2 separate regions of the Homo sapiens genome follow, and region 2 is linked to region 1. Evidence: promoter capture Hi-C in human tissues and cell types (Jung and others, 2019). All regions are on one chromosome and are shown on one strand. Each heading gives the region's core, a stretch centred on a gene start or on the middle of the fragment in contact. The rest is flanking DNA. Distances are from core to core; before and after follow the strand shown. Region 1 holds the start of GTF2I (general transcription factor IIi). Region 2 has its middle 33 kb from the start of EIF4H.

Region 1 (5,329 bases), core at 1,545-4,044:
CATTTGAAAAAAAACCTGGGCCCAGTGCAGTGCCTCATGCCTGTAATCGCAGCACTTTGGAGGCCACGGCAGGAGGCTTATTTGAGCCCAAGAAGTCAAGACCAGCCTGGGCAACATAGTGAGACCCGTCTCTACAAAAAACGAAATTAGCTGGGTGTGGTGGCACATACATGTTGTCCCAGGCATTTGGGAGGCTAAGGTGGGAGGATGGCTTGAATCTGGAGTTGGAGGCTGCAGTGAGCTGTGATCGAACCACTGCAGTGCAGCCTGGGTGATACAGTAAGACCCTGTCTCAAAAACAGGAAAAAAAAAAAGTAAAACAAAACCCCAGCTTTGCAGAGAGATAGTATCCAAAGTGATTTATAACAATGGCCACAATTAATGTAGTATCTATGCCACTAAGATGAAGGAGAAATTGGTTGACAAGTGTTCCAACAAGCCGCAGTGAGCCAGACCTTAATGAAGACAGAACACGCAAGATCTTTATGACTGTAACACATGAATTTGAGGGTTACAAACCTTAATGGCAAAATGCTCAGAAAAACGCTTTGTCTGCATACACATTGCCTCAACAGAGACAGCTTTCTGACTAGAGGTAATTCAAAACCAGCTCATGTTGACCTAACCGTTTTAGGAATTGCTTCAGTCTCAAAGAAGTTGGAGTTGTTTATGAAGAGGCAGCAAAATTCCACTGTGGGCCCGGTGCGGTGCTCACGCCTGTAATCTCAGCACTTTGGGAGGCTGAGGAAGGCAGATCACTTGAGGTCAGGAGTTCGAGAACAGTCTGGGCAACATGTTTAGTAGAAACCCGTCTCTACTAAAAATACAAAAATTAGCTGGGCGTGGTAGTGCACGCCTATAATCCTAGCTACTCAGGAAGCTGAGGCAGGAGAATCACTTGAACCCGGGAGGTAGACGTTGCCGTGAGCCGAGATCGCGCCACTGCACTCCAGCGTGGGTGACGGAGCGAGGCTCGGTCTCAAAAAAAAAATTCCACTGTGAACCACTAAACAAATTCATAGAAGAAAGGAACTACCTTCCAAACGTTTTCACGATGATAAGAGTCATCTTGGCTAAATAAACTTCTGCCTTGCTAACTCACTTTGTAACATCCCCCCAAATTCTACTCCACGACTCCACTATACCCAGGAAATCCTTTCCCTGACCCCTCCAGGTGGAGAAACCACTCTCTCAACAAAAGATACTCACTGAAGTCCACAGCAGCTGAAATCTGCATCTCGTAGGCTGGCTGCTCTTACTAGAGTGAGTTATAGGCTTCTCAAGAGTTAAATTTGTTCCTAAATATATGCCAGTGGCACGTGGTATTGGGAATAGAGAATTTAATTAAATATTACTAAATGTCAATGAAATACAAGTGCAAAAAGAAAGTTGCTCTTGTGCAAACTTAATGAATGACTTTCGAGACAATCGACAAAGGAGAGTCACAATCTTATTAGGCAAGGACCGAAGGGATCCTAGACATTGTCCGGGAAATCGCAAAAATTCAGGCTTCTGTAATCAGATTGCTTCTCCGGTGAGCTTTACGCTCTCCATGTATTTTTCAAAAAAAATCCAACATGAAAATTCTAGAGGAGGCTTTATTGGGTGCGGTCTGTGCAAGAGAGACGATGGGGAATGCCAATCGGAGAACCCAGATTGAAAGGAAAGGTTTTTGGAACCCACATCAAAAGACTGGCTGCTCGGAAAGTTTTCTCGCTAGCGACAAAGGCTTGGAGGCTGGAAAAAGCGTCGTGGTCGCCACCTACCGAGAAGCGGCGGGTGGGGGGAGGATGGCCGTCGTGGCCCGAATCCCCAGTGGGTGGTACTGGGTGGGGGGGCGGGCGGGAATCAAAAAACCACTCAATCTCGTGCTTTACATAAACATCTAAAAATCGTCGGCCTCGGGGTTGTAAAGTTTTGGAGTTTAACTTAGGTGAACAGTAATGTCTCTCCATTTTCAAAACCCACCGGCTAATTCAAGTTGAGAAGCAAAAAATAGTGGTAGGGGGAGGAGTTTGAGTTAAATCGCATCGCGGTTGACAGAACAAAACAGGAGCTACGAGTCAGGATTTCTGCTCCCACTCCCTTGCAAGTTTCCTTCCAAATCCTGAGGGAGAGATAGAGGCGGAGGGTCTGGGGGAGGAATTAAAACACAAGGTCTCCTCCCCTCTCGCCTGTCCGAACTTGGGGGCAACGGTCTCTTTGGAGGCCAGCTTGGAAAACACTAGAGAGGAGTTCTTTGTGTCCTGGAGGGTGGTGCAAGGCGGAAGGACTCCCCTTTTGCAGAGCAAGGAGGGCGACGGCCCAGCCCGGGGCTCCCCGGCTTTTGCAGCTTCCCTGCCTCGCAATTTGCAAGGAATGTGGGGTGCAAGAGCAAGTGGCGGACTTGGACGGCGGCTGGCGCTCGGTGGGGACGACGCCGGAGCCACCACCCGTCCAGATTTCCGTTTCTGCACCCCGGCTCCCCTCCCCCACCCGGGCGGCCGCGCAGGCCCCAGGTGCAGCCATGTTCTCGCTCCCACCACCCTCGCCTCCATTGACAGCCCTTGCTGGAGAGGGCCGGGCGCCGCGCTTGCCTCGTCCTCGGGTTCGGGGCTAGCCGGCGCGGTGCTTCCTGGGAGTTGTAGTCCACGACCGCCGCCGCCGCGTTGACGGGGAACGCATCCGAAACTACAACTCCCGCTGGGCGGCGCTGCGGATGCGCAGGCGCAACGCGCCTTCGAGGAACAAAAAAAAAAAAAAAAAAAAAAAAAAAGAAAAAAAAGAAAAAAAAAAGGAGGAGGAGGAGGAGGGTGAGAGAGAAGCTGGGAGAGCAGAGAAAAGGGGCCACCGGTCGCCCCCCCGCTTCCCCGCACGCGCTCTCCAGCCGCGGCCGCCCGCCTGCCGCGGTCACCCCGGCCTCTGCCTCTGTCCCCCAGTGATCGGATCAAGGCGCTGAGCGAGGCCCTGCCTGCGGGGCGGCCATGCGGCGGTGACAGGAGCGCGACCGACACGCACGGGCCCCTCGCCCCCTCTCGCCTCCCGTCCGCTCGCCAGCTCCCCTCAGCCGAGGCTGCTCCGCGGCGGCCGCAGCCCGCGCGCGGCCCACACTCGCCTCCCCTCGGCACCCCCGGCCCCGGAGCTGCCTGGAGGCGGCCGCACTCGGGTGAGTCCCTCTCGCCTCATCCCCGCGCCCCCCGCCCCCGCCTCGGGGGCCATTGCGAGCGGGGGCCTTTATTAGAGACTTTGCCCCGCCGGGGCCTGCAGGGACAGGGGCCTGGGAGCCGCGGCCCGCCGCGCGCGGTGTGGGGCCTTGGGGGGCGCCCGTGCCGCCTCCCCCTACCCCCACCCCCACCGCCTCGCCGGGTCTCGAGCCCCGCCGGCCTTGGCAGTGGCCGAAACGAGGCGATGGGGGTGGGGCGGCACGGACGCGGTCGCGGGGGACGACAGTGGCACGCGCGCGCCTCAGTGCGCGTGGGGGAGGGGCGCGCGCGCCGACCGGCGTGCGGTGGGGGGGCGCCTCGCGCGTGCGATCCCGCGCGCGAGCGAGCGAGCGGCCCTGCGGGCTGCGCATGCCCCGCCGCGCTGATTGGCCGGCTAGGCGGTGCGGGGGCGCGCGCGGTGCCAGGCCCGAGCCGTCGTGGGGTCGCGCTCGCCTGGTGTATCTGGGGCTCCTGCGCCGGGGCAGCAGACGCGCGGGATTGGCCAACCGGCGCGGGGGCGGGGCCGCGCGTTGCCTGGTAACTGCGGCGGGCGGGGGAGCGGGAGCGCTGTCCCCCGCCCCGCCCCGCTCCCAGGTGGAGTCCGCAGTGGGCTTTGTCCCGGGCCGGCCCGGCGCGCCTGCCCCGCGGGGCCTGTTCTTTGGGGGAAATAAACACAATGACCGGAAGGAAAACTTCAGCTTTAGGCCATGAAAATTAAGCCGTCTGGGTTCAGCCAGCACCCAGACGACGGGAGTGCAGAGGAAGAAGGAAAATGAAATGGAAAAAGCTGTCTCCTTCCCGCTCCCCGACTTCTCCACTTTTTCTTAATCCAGCTTTTGCTTTTTCGTGTAGCGAATTTTGTCCTCCCTAGGTTATGGATTTGCGCTGATTTGCGGCTGGGGATGTTCACAGGTGGGGTGCTGTTGGAGTAGTGTCCACTCTTGGCGATGCGCAGCTCTTGCTGACTACTGACCTCCTTTTTTTAAAAAAAATTATTTGTGGAGATGCGTTCTCACTTTGTTGCCCAGGCTGGTCTTGAACTCCTAGGCTCAAGCGATCCTCCCACCTTGGCCCCCCATAGTGCTGGGATTACAGGTGTGAGCCATCGCTTTCGGCTTAATTTTCTTTTTTTTTTTTAGAAACAGGGTCTCTCTGTGTTGCCCTGGCTGAAGCGCAGAGTGGCACAATCATAGCACATTGCAGCCTCCAACACCTGGGCTCCAGCGATCCTCCTGCCTCAGCCTCCTCAGTGGCTGGGACTACAGGCGCATGCCATCATGCCCTGCTAATTTTTTTTTTTTTGAGATGGAGTCTCACTCTGTGGCCCAGGCTGAAGTGCACTGGTGTGATCTCGGCTCACTGCAACCTCTGCCTCCCGGGTTCAAGCCGTTCTCCTGCCTCAGCCTCCTGAGTAGCTGGGATTACAGGCGTGCCCACCACGCCCGGCTAATTTTTGTATTTTTAGTAGAGATGGCGTTTCACCATGTTGGCCAGGCTGGTCTCCAACTCTTGAATCAAGCTGAAAGCAATCGGCCCGCCTCGGCCTGCCACCAAAGTGCTGGGATTACAGGCGTGAGCCACCGCCCTGGGTCACGCCTGGCTAATTTAAAATTTTTTTTTAGAGATGGGGTCTTCTTGTGTTGCCTAGGCTGGTCGGGAACTCCTGGACTCTGGTGATCCTCCCGTTTAGGCCTCCCAAAGTGGTGGGAGTACAGGCTTGAGCCACCACGCTGGGCCTCATCTCTTTTAAATTCAACTTTGCCGCAGACAATGGCTTGATCAGCCAACAGTGCAGAGGAGAAGTCTCCAGTCCTTCAGGGAACAAAAGGGGAAGTTAGTTTGCAAATGAGAACGTGCAGGTAGAGTGCCCTGCGGAGGCGGGGTCTTCTCCCCAGGCTGAGGCCTGTGGTGTGGGATGACCGATTTTATTTCCTGCTACAGGATTTTTCTGTGGCTGCTACCTTGGCTTTCGTTTCTCCTCCTCCTTGAGATCTTGGTCTTTTGGCTGGAATGACATTTTTCAGCCTATGGAAATCTTTCTTGCTCATATGCAGCCACTTCCTTAAGGTCTTCTCTTTTTTTTTTTTTTTTGCTGCTGTTGTTGAGAGGGTTTCGTTCTATCCCCCCAGGCTGGAGTGCAGTGGCGC
Region 2 (5,329 bases), core at 1,302-3,801, 520 kb before region 1:
AGGGGGTGGGTAAAATGAGGCTGAGACCTGCTGATATTGACAGGAGGCAGCCAATTGCCTAGGCCAATAGGGGCGGGTCCGCGGTGAAACCCCACCTCCAACCCGAAGACGGTTTAAAGCCTGAAACTGAAGGTACAAGTTTAAACCTTAGACCGGATTGAGAGCTTACCTTCCTGTTTGTCGCGCTTTCCTCTGATTGATCCCCACCCTTCGCCTATTTTACATATACCCACCCTTTCCTAATTGGTTTTCTACTCTTTCTTTTTTTTTTTGACAGAGTCTCGCTCTGTCACCCAGGCTGGAGTGCAGTGGTGCAATCTCGGCTCACTGCAATCTCCACCCCCCGGGTTCATGTCATTCTCCTGCCTCAGCCTCCCCAGTAGCTGGGACTACAGGCGCCTGCTACCACGCCCGGCTAATTTTTTGTATTTTTTAGTAGAGATGAGGTTTCACCGTGTTAGCCAGGATGGCCTCAATCTCCTGACCTTGTGATCTGCCCGCCTTGGCCTCCCAAAGTGCTGGCATTACAGGCATGAGCCACCGTGCCCGGCGGTTTTCTACTCTTTCATGACCACCTTTGAGTAGTGTCTTTGCTTTAACTCACCTCATTAGCATAAACTCCAGTGTGATCAAAAGGACTCATTATAAATAACAAAAGACATTCCTCCAACTCCTGGACTTAAGGGATCCCTCAAGCAAGCCTCAGCCTCCTGAATAGCTGGGACTACTCCTTTTTGCATACTCACAAGCCAATCAGCACACACTCCCCACCCTGTGCCTATAAAGGCTCCAGACTCAGTCAGCAGGGGAAAAGACGACCTGACTTCGGGGAAGGCAGCCTGCACTTCCCATCCCCTCTCCAGCTCCCCTCTCCACTGAGAGTCGCTTTCATTGCTCAATAAAATTCTCCACCTTCATCATCCTTCAATCGTCCGTGTAACTTCATTCTTCCTGGATGCTGGACAAGAGCTTGGGACCCAGTGAGTGAGGATACCCAGAAAGGCTGTCACACTGGGCCTTTGCCCTCGCCTGTGAAGGGCAGCTGTCCCCATGTGATGAGGCAAGGGGCCAGCTGATCTGCTGACATGTCACCATCTGTGGACAGCAGAACTAAAGGAGCACTGTAATAACACCCCCTCTGCAGCTTCGGGGACACGGGCACCCTCACCTAGGTGCTGCTGCTTTCCCCTCAAGGTGACATGCCTGCTCTGGCCATGGGCCCTGCATACAGCTTGCTCCTGTGTTGGTGCCTGGAGAAGCCAGCTGGCCAGATCCCACACTTAGTCACTTGTGTGCTCCCTCCTGCAAGGGGTTGAGCACAGGGGGCTGAGTAGATGGGGCATCCCTTCCATGAGTCCAGCGAAGGTGCCTAGAAAAACCCTGCATCACCACTGAGCTACTTTCCCAGGAGGTGAGGCATTCCCAGTCACAGGATGACACAGGAGGGTGGCACAAGACATAGGTGACAAAAAACCTTGCTGATAAAACAGGTTGCAGCAAAGAAGCCGGCCAAAACCCACCAAAACCAAGGTGGCGATGAAAGTGACCTCTGGTAGGCTGGGTGCGGTGGCTCAACGCCTATAATCCCAGCACTTTGGGAGGCCCAGGCGGGCGGATCACCTGAGGCCAGGAGTTTGAGACCAGCCTGACCAACATGGAGAAACTCCGTCTCTACTAAAAATACAAAAAATTAGCTGGGCGTGGTGGCACATGCTTGTAATCCCAGCTACTCAGGAGGCTGAGGCAGGAGAATTGCTTGAACCCGGGAGGCGGAGGTTGCAGTGAGCCAAGATCGTGCCATTGCATTCTAGCCTGGATGACAAGAGTGAAACTCCATCTCAAAAAATAGAAAGAAAGTGACCTCTGGTCGTCCTCACTGCTCATTATGTGCTAATTATAATATATTAGCATGCTAAAGACACTCCCATCAGTGCCATGACAGTTTAGAAATGCCGTGGCAACATCAGGAAGTTACCCTATATTGTCTAAAAAGGGGAGGAACCGGCCGGGCGCAGTGGCTCATGCCTGTAATCCCAGCACTTTGGGAGGCCAAGGCAGGTGGATTGCAAGGTCAAGAGTTCAAGACCAGCCTGGCCAAGATGTGAAACCCTGTCTCTACTAAAAATACAAAAATTAGCTGGGCATGGTGGCGGGCGCCTGTAATCCCAGCTACTCCAGAGGCTGAGGCAGGAGAATTGCTTGGACCCAGGAGGCAGAGGTAGCAGTGAGCTGAGATTGCACCATTGCACTCCAGCCTGGGTGGCAGAGCAAGACTCTGTCTCAAAAAAAAGTGGGGAGGAACCCTCAGTTCCAGGAATTGCCCGTGCCTTTCCCAGAAAATTCATGAATAATCCACCCTTGTTGGGCATGTAATCAAGAGATAACTATAAAAAATATCCAGCCAGCAACCTTAGGGGATGCTCTGCCTATGGAGTAGACATTCTTTGTTCCTTTACTTTCTTTTTTTTTTTTTTTTTTGTGAGATGGAGTCTCACTTTGTCATCCAGGCTGGAGTGCAGTGGTGCAATCTTGGCTCACTGCAACCTCTACCTCCCCAGCTCAAGCGATTCTCCTGCCTCAGCCTCCCAAGTAGCTGGGATTACAGGCGTATGTCACCACGCCCAGCTAGTTTTTGTATTTTTTAGTGGAGACAGGGTTTCACCATGTTGGCTAGTCTGGTCTTGAACTCCCAATCTCAAATGATCCGCCCACCTTGGCCTATCAAAGTGCTGGGATTACAGGTGTGAGCCACTGTGCCCAGCCTATTCCTTTACTTTCTTAATATACTTGCTTCCACTTTACTCCATGGACTCGCCTGGAATTGTTTCTTGCGTGAGATTCAAGAACTCTCTCTTGGCTGGGTGTGGTGGCTCACGCCTGTAATCCCAGCACTTTGGGAGGCCGAGGCAGGTGGATCATGAGGTCAGGAGTTTGAGACCAGCCTGACCAACATGGGGAAACCCTGTCTCTACTAAAAATACAAGAAAATTAGCCGGGCGTGGTGGCACGTGCCTGTAATCCCAGCTACTCAGGAGGCTGAGGCAGGAGAATCACTTGAACCCGGGAGGCAGAGGGCGCCACTGCAGTCCAGCTTGGGCAATAGAGTGAGACCCTGTCTCAAAAAAAAAAAAAAAAAAAAAAGATTAAAAAAGAACCCTCTCTTGGGGTCTTGATTGGGACTCCTTTCCAGTAACAGTGTGAAAGAAAAATAAAATCACCAGACCCCAAACTCACTATGTCAAAGGGCAAAAAGCTAAGCTTAGGAACTGAGTCATACAGGAAACTGCATTTTCTTTTGTTCCTAACCAGATAGCTGCAAGATTGAATGCCACGTATCTCCACAGGTGGCTTCCCTCACCCTGACCATGTAAATTCAGCTTACCTTCACAGGTACAGGACAAATAAAAAAATAGAAATCTGGCCAGGCATGGGGGCTCACACCTGTAATTCCAACACTTTGGGAGGCTGGGGTGAGAGAATTGCTGGAGCTCAGGGGTTGGAGATCACCCTGGGCAACCCAGTGAGAGGCTGTCTCTACGGAAAAGATTTTAAATTAGCCTGGTGTGGTAGTGCACACCTGTAGTACCAGCTACTCAGGAGGCTGCATTGGGAGTATTGCTTAAGCTCAGGAGGTCGAGGCTCTAGTGAGGTGTGATCGCACCGCTGCACTCCAACCTGAGCAACAGAATAAGACCCTGTCTCAAAAAAAAAAAAAAAAAAAAAAATCATGGCCGGGCGTGGTGGCTTACGGCTGTAATCCCAACACTTTGAGAGGCCAAGGGATCACCTGAGGTCACGAGTTCGTGACCAGCCTGACCAACATGGTGAAACCCCGTCTCTACTATAGACAAAAAATTAGACAGGCATGGTGGCACATGCCTGTAATTCCAGCTACTTGGGAAGCTGAGGCAAGAGAATCACTTGAGCTGAGGCGGCAGAGGTTGCAGTGAGCCAAGATTGCACCATTGCATTCCAGCCTGGGCCACAAGAGTGAAACTCTGTCTCAAAAAAATAACAATAATTTTTTTTTTTTTTTGAGGTGGAGTCTTGCCCTGTCACCCAGGCTGGAATGCAGTGGCACGACCTTGGCTCACTGCAAGCTCCGCCTCCCGGGTTCACGCCATTCTCCTGCCCCAGCCTCCCGAGTAGCTGGGACTACAGGCGCCTGCCACCACGCCCGGCTAAATGTTTTGTATTTTTAGTAGAGACAGGGTTTCACCATGTTAGCCAGGATGGTCTCAATCTCCTGATCTCATCATCCGTCCGCCTAGGCCTCCCAAAGTGCTGGGATTACAGGTGTGAGCCACCGCGTCCGGCCAATATTTTTCTTTTTTTTAAATCATACTTCCAGGCCAGGTGCGGTGGCTCACACCTGTAATCCCAGCACTTTAGGAGGCTGAGGTAGGCAGATCACAAGGTCAGGAGTTCGAGACCAGCCTGGCTAACATGGTGAAACCCTGTCTGTACTAAAAACTACAAAAATTAGCTGGGCGTGGTGGCACACACCTGTAATGCTAGCTACTCAGGAGGCTGAGGCAGGAGAATTGCTTGAGCCCGGGAGGCGGAGGTTGCAGTGAGCTGAGATCACACTACTGCACTCCTGCCTGGGGGACAAAGTGAGACTCTGTCTCAGAAAAAAATAATAATAATAAATCATACTTACCCCCACCCTAAGACAAAAGCATAATTGACTTCTTCCTCTACTCTGTGTTTACTTTATCTTGTGTAAAATACAGATATATTTAGCACAAGATGAATTCATAATTGACTGTTCCTTTTTCCCTCCTTTCACATGTGTTAAAAGAAAAACTTCAGCCAAATTAAATTTAAGGGAGTTTAATTGAGCAATGAACAATTTGTGAATCGGGCAGCCCCCAGAATCACAGCCGATTCAGACAGACTCCAGTGCAGCCATGTGATGGAAGAAGATTTATAGACAAAGGGAAATGACATACAGAAGTCAGTGAGGTACAAAAACAACTGGATTGGCTACAGGTCGGCATTTGCCTTATTTGAATATGGCTCAAACAGTTGGCTACATCTGACTGGCCAAAACTCAGTGATTGGCACAGGGTGTGGGCTATGGCCGAGTTATACCTCCGCTTGTTACAGTTCACAATGTACAGAAAAACCTTTAGGCCAAATTGAAATATGTAAAGAAGCAGCTTTAGGCTAAACTTGATTAACGTATGTAAGATGTGGATTCAGTGATCATGAATGAAAGCCTCACAGAAAGTGACCACTTATTTCACTACCTTCCCTAGTGTTTTTGTTGTTGTTGTTTGTTTTGTTTTGTTTTGTTTTTTGAGATGGAGTCTCACTATATCAT

The links. The method cuts DNA at HindIII sites, captures the fragments that hold promoters and counts their contacts. A contact is called where the count stands out against the background at its distance.
Region 2: a fragment that was not itself captured here is called in contact with the fragment with the promoter of GTF2I in region 1 in 2 of the 25 tissues and cell types used here (pancreas and spleen).

The regions. Positions count from the first base shown.
Region 1 is chr7:74,654,924-74,660,252 of GRCh38, forward strand. GTF2I (general transcription factor IIi) reads left to right here and starts at 2,795. Exons shown (of 35, transcript NM_032999.4): 1 at 2,795-3,145. RefSeq lists silencers at 2,345-2,504, 2,875-3,054, 3,075-3,364, 3,435-3,954 and enhancers at 2,585-2,704, 2,725-2,774, 4,725-4,954, 5,225-5,329. The HindIII fragment of the contact is 40,491 bases long and covers 1-5,329 here.
Region 2 is chr7:74,138,570-74,143,898 of GRCh38, forward strand. No RefSeq gene overlaps it. Among named protein-coding and RNA genes, the nearest start is that of EIF4H, 33 kb to the right of the region's middle. RefSeq lists an enhancer at 256-785. The HindIII fragment of the contact is 5,476 bases long and covers 1-5,289 here.